Linked DNA regions of Homo sapiens: regions 1 and 2 are each linked to region 3. The links are contacts of gene promoters, found by promoter capture Hi-C in blood cells and fetal thymus (Javierre and others, 2016). All regions are on one chromosome and are shown on one strand. Each heading gives the region's core, a stretch centred on a gene start or on the middle of the fragment in contact. The rest is flanking DNA. Distances are from core to core; before and after follow the strand shown.

What was found. Contacts are between HindIII fragments. The CHiCAGO score rates a contact against its expected background, and 5 or more counts as called.
Region 1: a fragment that was not itself captured here is called in contact with the fragment with the promoter of OR13A1 in region 3 in 6 of 17 cell types (M2 macrophages, monocytes, total B cells and 3 more); the score reaches 8.6 in M2 macrophages.
Region 2: a fragment that was not itself captured here is called in contact with the fragment with the promoter of OR13A1 in region 3 in 8 of 17 cell types (M0 macrophages, monocytes, naive B cells and 5 more); the score reaches 7.8 in M0 macrophages.

The regions. Positions count from the first base shown.
Region 1 is chr10:45,423,481-45,426,387 of GRCh38, reverse strand. ALOX5 (arachidonate 5-lipoxygenase) reads right to left here. Exons shown (of 14, transcript NM_000698.5): 5 at 2,241-2,347; 6 at 1,256-1,428. Among named protein-coding and RNA genes, the nearest start is that of ALOX5, 51 kb to the right of the region's middle. RefSeq lists an enhancer at 21-521. The HindIII fragment of the contact is 2,778 bases long and covers 1-2,672 here.
Region 2 is chr10:45,442,100-45,445,040 of GRCh38, reverse strand. ALOX5 (arachidonate 5-lipoxygenase) reads right to left here. Exons shown (of 14, transcript NM_000698.5): 10 at 1,825-2,003; 11 at 1,504-1,625; 12 at 1,213-1,313; 13 at 755-925. It overlaps LOC102724323 (a long non-coding RNA gene), which reads left to right. Exons shown (of 3, transcript NR_120674.1): 3 at 189-473. Among named protein-coding and RNA genes, the nearest start is that of ALOX5, 69 kb to the right of the region's middle. RefSeq lists enhancers at 1,332-2,100, 2,101-2,871. The HindIII fragment of the contact is 3,018 bases long and covers 77-2,941 here.
Region 3 is chr10:45,314,201-45,316,942 of GRCh38, reverse strand. It overlaps OR13A1 (olfactory receptor family 13 subfamily A member 1), which reads left to right and starts at 1,335. Exons shown (of 4, transcript NM_001004297.3): 1 at 1,335-1,419. The HindIII fragment of the contact is 10,818 bases long and covers 1-2,742 here.

The DNA of each region.
Region 1 (2,907 bases), core at 34-2,533, 110 kb before region 3:
GTCAGTGAGGGGTGGGTCAGCTCAAAGGAAAGGTGACTCATAACCCACGTGCCCTGGAGGTGGCCGGGACTCCCAGTGGGAGGCTGATGCCCTGCCAGGTGCTGAGGATGGCCACTCCTTGGCTGCTGGGTGCAGAGATGGCTGCTCAGAGTCTTCCAATTCTAGGATTCTATATGGCTTAAAGTTCTATGATCTCTGACTTGAAGTTTGAAACCTATAGCCACCAAATCAATGTTACTACATCTAGCAATTCAGTCCACTCAGGAACACAGATGCTCTCTCAGTGTGTGGGGGATTGTAACTGTCAGCTGTTCACATGACCAGGAAGTGTTCTGGGCCTGGTTGGGTGCAGGAGGAGGAGGAGGTTAGGAAACACTGCCTGCACTGGGGCAGGAGACTTGCCCAGGGACTTCAGCTGGGTGGGTGGCCCTCTAGATTCAGGTGGGCCAGGTACTGGGGCTGTAGGTTTATCTCTAAAGGGCACCAACCATCCCTCTCCAACTAGGGCCTCAGGGTAAGCTGAGCTCAAAAGACTGGAAGCAGCAGAGGCCACCTGGACACCTGGGGATAGGCAGCAGGGCCTGGGTGGCAGGAGGCCCCATCACGCTGGATCCATGGGGAAGAGGCAGGCTGATGGGCCAGCGCCTGTTGCTGAGCCCCACCAGATCCAGGTGGAGTTGGTTTGAACTTCTTCTGTCTCAAGACTAGGTCAGCCTTGCAGCCGGAGGCAGCTGAGTCTGCAGGTGAGGGTGGGGAGGAGGGTGCGACAGGAGCATGGGCAGCAGCATTTCTAACGAGAAAATCAACCATTCTGTTGGGTTTCTCCTCGTGCCCCTTTTTTATTCTCACACAAGGTCTGCTTCTTTCTCCAGTGTTCTCCCCTTTGCAAGGTGGGTGACAACTGATGACCTTGTGTGTAAAGCACCTGTCACAATGCCTGTCCCACCACAGGCCCCTAATCAAGGGTAGCTCCTGTAATTATTGATACTGATAGTGAAAATATTGACATTATGTTCCCAGACTCGAGCATCATGGAGAAACATTCCCCGCAATTCCTCCTCTGATGTTGCACAAGACAGTCTGCATAATGCCCAGGACCCTGGCTGACACTGCTGCCAGGAAAAGGAAGCGGCTGCTGTAGGCCAGATGGGCCTGCAGTTAGCGTCTTGGTGGCCTATGAGCACTGGCCAGGAGGAACTGGCTTCCACCTGACAGACTGTGACCTTGGCCACTTCCCCAGCCCATCAACCCCTACCTGGACCTCCTGCTCCAAGCTGAGCTGCCGCTCCAGGCTGCACTCTACCATCTCCGTGGTCACCGGGAGCTTCTCGGGCAGCTCTGTGCAGCGCCGGATCAACACAGGGTTGCAGCCATTCAGGAACTGGTAGCCAAACATCAGGTCTTCCTGCCAGTGATTCATGACCCGCTCTACCAGGAGAAAAGCGAGGCCCACCCTGAGCTCTGAGTAGAGGGCAGCCAGGGCCATGGCCCTCCTGACCTCACCTAAGAGCAGAGTCCCTGCTTGGTCTCCTCTCCCGAGTGCTCCCTGGATGGGCACAGCTCCAACTGCTGCCCCCTGCCCATCACTGGGTCAGGCTGTGGCACCAACTCATCATACCTGAGCTGGCCCTTCGTGGCTCAGAAGCCTCCTGGAGCACTCAGGTCCTTCAGCCCAGCATGGAGTGTCCAGGATGGAAGAAGGAGGGCGTGGAGGAGAGTCCCTGGGGGCAGTTTGCCAAGTTTGGTTCCCCATGTCCTGATTTCAGCACCTCTTCTTGTCCAGCCATTCCTGCCTTCCTAACGTCCTTCCCATGCCATGACTGGCCACTATGAAGCTAGTGCTCTCATCAAACACATCCTAGTCCAAAGGAACCCAAAGTTGCTTTTGTGTAAATACCTAAAACACAAGCCAAGTTCTGCCTTTGCTCTGTTCAGAAGCACAAATGATTGATTTGTGCCAAGAAAAAGTTCTGATACTTTTGAGACTTTTGATAGTGAAATGAGGTTGAGGGTGCTCGAGCTTGAATATCTGAGGAGGAGAAACCTCTGGGCACAAGGGTGACCACAGTGATGGTAAAAGGTGTGGAGTGTAGGGGGTGCTGTCCAGGGTGGCATGGTGGCAGCGAGGCCCCCATGCTGCAGCAGGCAGGAAGGCCCTTGTCAATTTCCCGGCAAGTATCAGACAGGAGAGCAGCATCCCCTGTCCCCAGCACCACTTGGGCCCCCAGAGGCACACTCACCAGAAATAGTGTTGCTGATCTTGACAAAGATTTTCTCAAAGTCGGCGAAGTCATTCCAAGAAGACTGGAACATGTGCATGAAGCGGTTGATGAACAGGTTCTCCATCCTGCAGACCAGGAGAGAGGTCACCTTGCGCACACTAGCCATGCCTCCCTCTGCAGAGCCCCTTCACACCAAGCTCTCAGGGGTCCTCACAACCCCCGCCCCCTCCAGGCAGCTCTGCAGAGGTAGGTGACTGGCTTTTCAGAACCAGGTCAGAAACTGGCATCTATACGGGATGCTGTTCTACTGCACCTCACCTGTCGAAGAGACAGGCCAGTACCCTCCAGAATAGCCTGCAGTGCCTTGAATTCCATTCACACATGTGTTCATTCATTCACTCATCGGGCACTTGCAGTCCCCCACTCGGTGGGCCAGTCCCTGAGAAAGCTTCTACGAACAGAGATCCAGCTGCTCTACCGTGTTGCCTGGCTTTTGGGGCGATGAACAGTTCAATTGACTTGAAAACTCATGTATTTTCTGCTAAATGGCTCCGTGTTTGGTGCTGAGGAGAAGTTTCCAAATGCTCACTGCACAGGACAAGAAAATAGAAACCCAAGGCCAGAGCTTGCTAAATTCAGAATGCAGGCTGCAGGTACTAAGGAGTGAGATGTGAGTGTATGAGCA
Region 2 (2,941 bases), core at 336-2,835, 130 kb before region 3:
TCTCACACAGATGTCTGCGGGGCAGAGCTAGATATCATTTTAAAAAAATACTGTATTGGATTAAGATCACAAAGCTTCTGAGCTGGAAAGGTCCAAGAAACATAGGCTATTGATAATGGGATTTTGAATTTAGTTTGTGGAGGGCAATTCAGTATCAATATTCTTTGACCAAGGAATTTGTCTGCTAGGAATGTGTGCGGTCATACTGAACACATGTGCAAAGCCACAAAAACAAGGATGTCCAGTGAGGGACCAACACATTGGCCGGGAACAACTCAGACACCCAGCAGTCTGGAGCAGGTTGGACTGGTCCGGCCATTCTATGCAGTACTGAGCTACCCCAAAGCGGGTGCATCCACGAAGACACACCGGATTCAGTTGTTAGGTTAAATGAGATGCACGTGTCCGGAAGGAACCCAGGAAACTCTTGGTCATTCCCTCTGGAGTACCAGGGTAAAACACATGTGCAAGAACTTTGTCAATAGCTGGGGGGAGGGGGCGTCACACACGACCCTCTGGTGACAGTGAGCAAAGCCTGGGCTGTGTGCTCTCCTGCCCTGCACACCCTGAGCTCTGTCCAGGCTGAGGCCGGGGGACCTGGTGGCGGCTGCAGCCTTCTGGGCCCTTCCAGCCTTGGAAGTCAGGATTCCTTTGCTCCAAGTGAGCCTTGGGGCCCGAGTCACAAAGCCCTGAGGCTGAGGAACCGCTTAACCTGGGGTGACCTGGGGCTGTGCCCCGCCCTGCCCAGCTTCACCTCGTTTTCCTGGAACTGGCTCAGCGCCCACACTGCACCCAGATGCCAGCAGGAGCGGCCGCGGTCGGGCAGCGTGTCCACGATCTGCTCAATGGTCACCACGCCCTTGGCAGTCGGTGGCGGGGCTCGCATGGTTGGGGGCGCATTGGGGATCCAGGAGCACCAGTCGTACTGCGGAGACGACCGCCAGCAAGCGTGGGCACCCCCGAAGCCCTGCTGCCCAGCTGCCCCCTGGGCCCCGTCCTCCCCGTGCCCCCCAACTCCAGCGGGCCCTGCAGTCCGTCCATCCTCTTTCCCCGCGGCCAGCGCCCTTGGCTGAGCGGGCAGAATCCATCCTGCAAGTCCCGTGCCAGGCCCCGAGGCTGTCCGAGGGTGCAGTACGCGTGCAGAACCGGGGCGGGGGAGGAGGCAGCGGCCTTGAGAAGGGAGCCCTGCCCAGCGGGCCCGGCCCTGCCTACCTGGCCGAAGTTGACCGCGGCGTGCTGGGCGGAGGCGGTGAAGATCACCACGGTCAGGTACTCCGACAGCTGCTCCCGGCTCTTGACCGACTTGGGGAAGCCTAGGGTGGAACCACCGGCGGGCTGAGGCCCAGTCCCTGAGGACCCCAGGGCCCGGCGCCCACCCCGTGCCCGGATTCCCTGCCCCAAGGCCGGAGGGCACCCTGGGCAGGACACCCCGGAGGGGTGGCGGAGGGGCCAGCGCTGCCGACTGCGGGGGAGCCGGGTCCGGAGACGTCCCGGAGGCCCTACCTGAGGACTTGCGGCCCCGCATGCCGTACACGTAGACATCGTTCACGAAGTCCTGCAGCTCCGGGTCCTCCTCCACCACCTGGTCGCCCTCGTAGTAGATGTCTACCACCTCGGCCGTGAACCTGGCTCAGGGGGCGCAGCCGGGGTGGGCGACCCAGCCAGGTCTGCGGAGCGGTGCCCGGCGGCAACCCCCTCACGGACGCTGGGACTCCCCCACCCCGTCCCCATTCAGCGCTAGCGGTGGAGGGGCCAGGCCCGCCCCAGGTAGTCAGGCAGGGGTCCCGGCTCCTCCCCCAGGACCACCGCCCCGCGGGCGCTCACGTCCTGATGGCTTCCCACACCAGGAGCCCGTCGTCCCGGTAGAAGTAGTAGGGGATGTCTTCTTTGCTCTCCATGCCCCGGGCCTTGATGGCCTCGGGAAAGCACAGGGAGGCATAGGTCAGGTCCTTCATGGCCCTCTGCACCATCTGCACGTGCCCACCGCCCCCTGTGGCGTTGGCCTGGAGTGGGAGGTAGAGTGCCCTGAGCGGGTGGCTCCTCCCACAGCTGTCCAGACCCATCCCTGAGGAAATGTGCCAGGGGAGGCGAGGAGGCCAGGCAGGCAGAGGTGCAAGCCCTTGTCCTGTGAGATGGGGGAGGGATGTTTAACGCAGAGAATGACAAGGGCAGCCGGGTGGAGAGGTGCTAGGGAGGAGCCTCCCGCCCAATCCAATGCAAGGGACTGAACCGTGGGGCTGCAGAGTACAAGAGGGAAGGGTGCGCTCCCAGCCACAGGAGGGCAGCAGGCGTGGGCAGGTGTGTGGGGGACCCCAGCACCAGCGGGCCTGGGCTGTGAAGTCTGCTCTAGTGCTGAGCACACGACCCTCAGTCATTGCTCTCAGTGACCCTCAGTTTCCAGGACCCATGCAACTCTGTTGAGGGCCTGTTGTGTGCTCAGGTGAGGGCTGGAGAGACCCACAAGGAGGGATCCTGGTCCTGATCCCGATCCCGGCTTCTGAGTGATGCAGACACACTCACAAGCTCACTGGCACATATGTGTGTCCACGTGCACACACACACATGCAAATACACCCAGGGGGCTGGGCTGTCGGTGCCACAGAGGTTTTGAAGAAGGACTTGGGTGCTGGGGTGCCAGAGATTGGTCCACGGTGGGCATTCAGCCCAAGCAGGACCAACCAGAGCTGCCCCCCAGCACTTTCTGTTTAGATGCGGCTGGGAGATAATGGCCACATGAGAACCTGAGGTGGAGCTACTATGATGAGCTCCTGTGCCCTCTCCCATGGGGGCCTGTCTGCAGCAGGAGAGTGTGATGCCAACACAGGTGAAAGAGACAGAAAGAGGGAGCCAGTGTGCATGCACCCTGGGGCATTGCTTGAGTCCCTGGATCCATTTCTGGCTGAGGCCCCCGACCCTCTATTGTGTCCAGGTATTTGAGATA
Region 3 (2,742 bases), core at 86-2,585:
TGATTTCCTTTCCAGTTTGGATGCTGAGCATTTTTTCTTATGTTTTTTGCCCATTCATATATAATTTTAAAAGAAATGTCTATTCAAATCCTTTTGCCATTTTAAAATCATATTATTTTTAAATATTGTGTTGTAGAAATTATTTATATATTCTGGATATTAACTCTTTATCAGATATATAATTTACTAATATTTTCTTCCATCCACAAGTTTTTTTTAACATTGTTATGTCCTTTAATGCATAAAAGTTTTAAAAAGTTTGATGTAGTCCCAATTGTCTATTTTTTCTTTTGTTGTCTGTACTTTTGGTGTCATATTAAAAAATAATTGCCATATCCCCTTATTCTAAGAGTTTTATAGTTTTAGATCTTCCATTTAAGTTTTAAATCCATTTTGAGTTAATTCTTGTATATGGCATAAGACAAAGTTTCAACTTCACTCTTTCATGTGTGGATATCCAAGTTTCCCAACACTGTTTGTTGAAGAGAATGTTCTTCCCTCATTGAGCGGATCTGGAATGCTGTAAATATTATTTGACCATATATGTGGAGTTTTCTTTTAATGGGTTCTTTATTCTATTCCATTGGTCTATATGTCTCTCTTTAAGCCAGTGTCATGCTGTTTTAATTACTGTAGTCTTGTAACATGTTTTGAGATCACGGAGCATGAGACCTTCAACTCAGTTAGTTTTCAAGATTGTCTAGTCAGAGTATATATGAATATTTAGATAAATTTTTCTCTTTTTTCAAAAAATGCAGCTTAGATTTTGATAGGGATTACATATAATTTGTAGACTGCTTTGGGTTCTATTGACTTTTCAAATTAATACATAATGTTGTACAGATTTGGGGAATACATCTGATATTTTGGAGATCTTAACATTAAATCTTCCAATCCATGAATACCAATGTCTTTACATTTATTTGTGACTTCTTTCAGTACTGTTTTGTAGTTTTCAGTGTACAAGCCTTTTATTTCCCTGGCTAAGTTTATTCCTAAGTATTTTACTATTTTTGATGGTATTGTAATTAAATTATTTTCTTAATTACCTTTGGATTGTTTATAGTTAATTTATAGAAAGGCAACTGATTTTTGTGTGTCGATTTTGGATCCTGCAACTTTCCAGAATTTGTTTAATAGTTCCAACAGTTTTCTGGATTTTATGCATATATGCATCTAACAGTTTTCTAGATTTTATGCAGGAGTCTAGGATTTTATGCATATAGGATCAAGTCATCTGTGAGCAGAGATAATTTTACTTTTTTCTTTTATTCTTTGGATGTCTTTTCTTGCTTAATTTTTTTTTCCTAATTGGTCTGCTTGGAAATTCAAATACTATATTGAATAGAAGCGAAGAGACAGAGTATACTTGTCTTGTTCCTAATCCAGAAGAAAAGTTTGAATCTTTTACCATTGAGTGTAAGTTTACCTGTGGATTTTTCATATATGGCCTTTATTATGTTATTTTCCTTCTATTCCTAGTTTGCTGAGTGTTTTCGTGATAAAAGGTGTTAAATTTTGTTAAACATTTTTTCTACATCAATATAAATGATCATGCTGTTTTGTCCTTTATTCTATTACTATAGTGTATTACATTGATTTTTGCATGTTGTATTATTCTTTTTTTTTGAGATGAAATCTCATTCTGTCATTCTGGCTGGAGTGCAGTGGCATGACCTCAGCTCACTGCAACATTTGCCTCCTGGGTTCAAGGGATTCTCCTGTCTCAGCCTCCCAAAGTGCTGGGATTACAGGCATGAGCCAGCACACCCTGCCACATGTTCTATCATTCTTGCATTCCAGGAATAAAGCCAACCTGATCATCACAAATATTGGTCTGTAGTTTTCTTTTCATGTAATGTCTTTGTTTGACTTTGAAATCAGGGTAATACTGGCCTCATATAATGAGCTTTGAAGTGTTTTTTATATTCATTTTTGTAAATGACTTTGAGAAACATTGGTTCTAATTCTTCCTTAAATGTTTGGTAGTCATCCGGTTCTGGGCTGTTGTTTGTTTGGAGGTTTTTGAACCAGTTTAATCTCCTTCGTAGTTATAAGTCTGTTCGTTTTTTCTACTTCTTCATGATTCACTCTTATTAGGTTGTATATTTCTAGAAATTTATGCACTTCTAAATTATCCAATTTGTTGACATATAATTAACTGTTGATGGTATTTTCTTATAATCCTTTTGATTTCTATGGCATGGGTTCTAATGTTCTCTTTTTTATTTCTGATTTATTAGTTGAATCTTTTTTCCTTAGTTAATCTAGCTAAGCATTTGTTAATTTTGTTGGTGTTTTCAAAAACCACCTCTTAGTTTTGTTGATTTTTTTCTATTGTTTTTATATTCTATATTTCATTTATCTCTGATTTAATCTAATCTTTAGGATTTTCCTCCTTCTGCTAGCTTTGGGTGTAGTTTTTTTTCTCTCCTAGTTTCCTGAGGTATAAAGTTAGGTTGTTGATTTGCAAACTTTCTTCTACTTCTTTTTTTTTTTTTCTTAAGTTGTGGAGATGGGGTCTTGCTTTGTTGCCCAGGCTGGTCTCAAATTCCTGGCCTCCAGAAGTTCTCCTCCCTCAGCCTGTCAAAGTGCTGGGATTGCAGGCATGACCCACCATGCCTAGCCACTTTCTTCCTTTTATAATGCACATATTTATAGCTATAAAATTCTCTGTTAGCACTGCTTCTGCTGCATCTTACACATTTTGGTACATTGTATTTTTATTTTCCTTTATCTCAA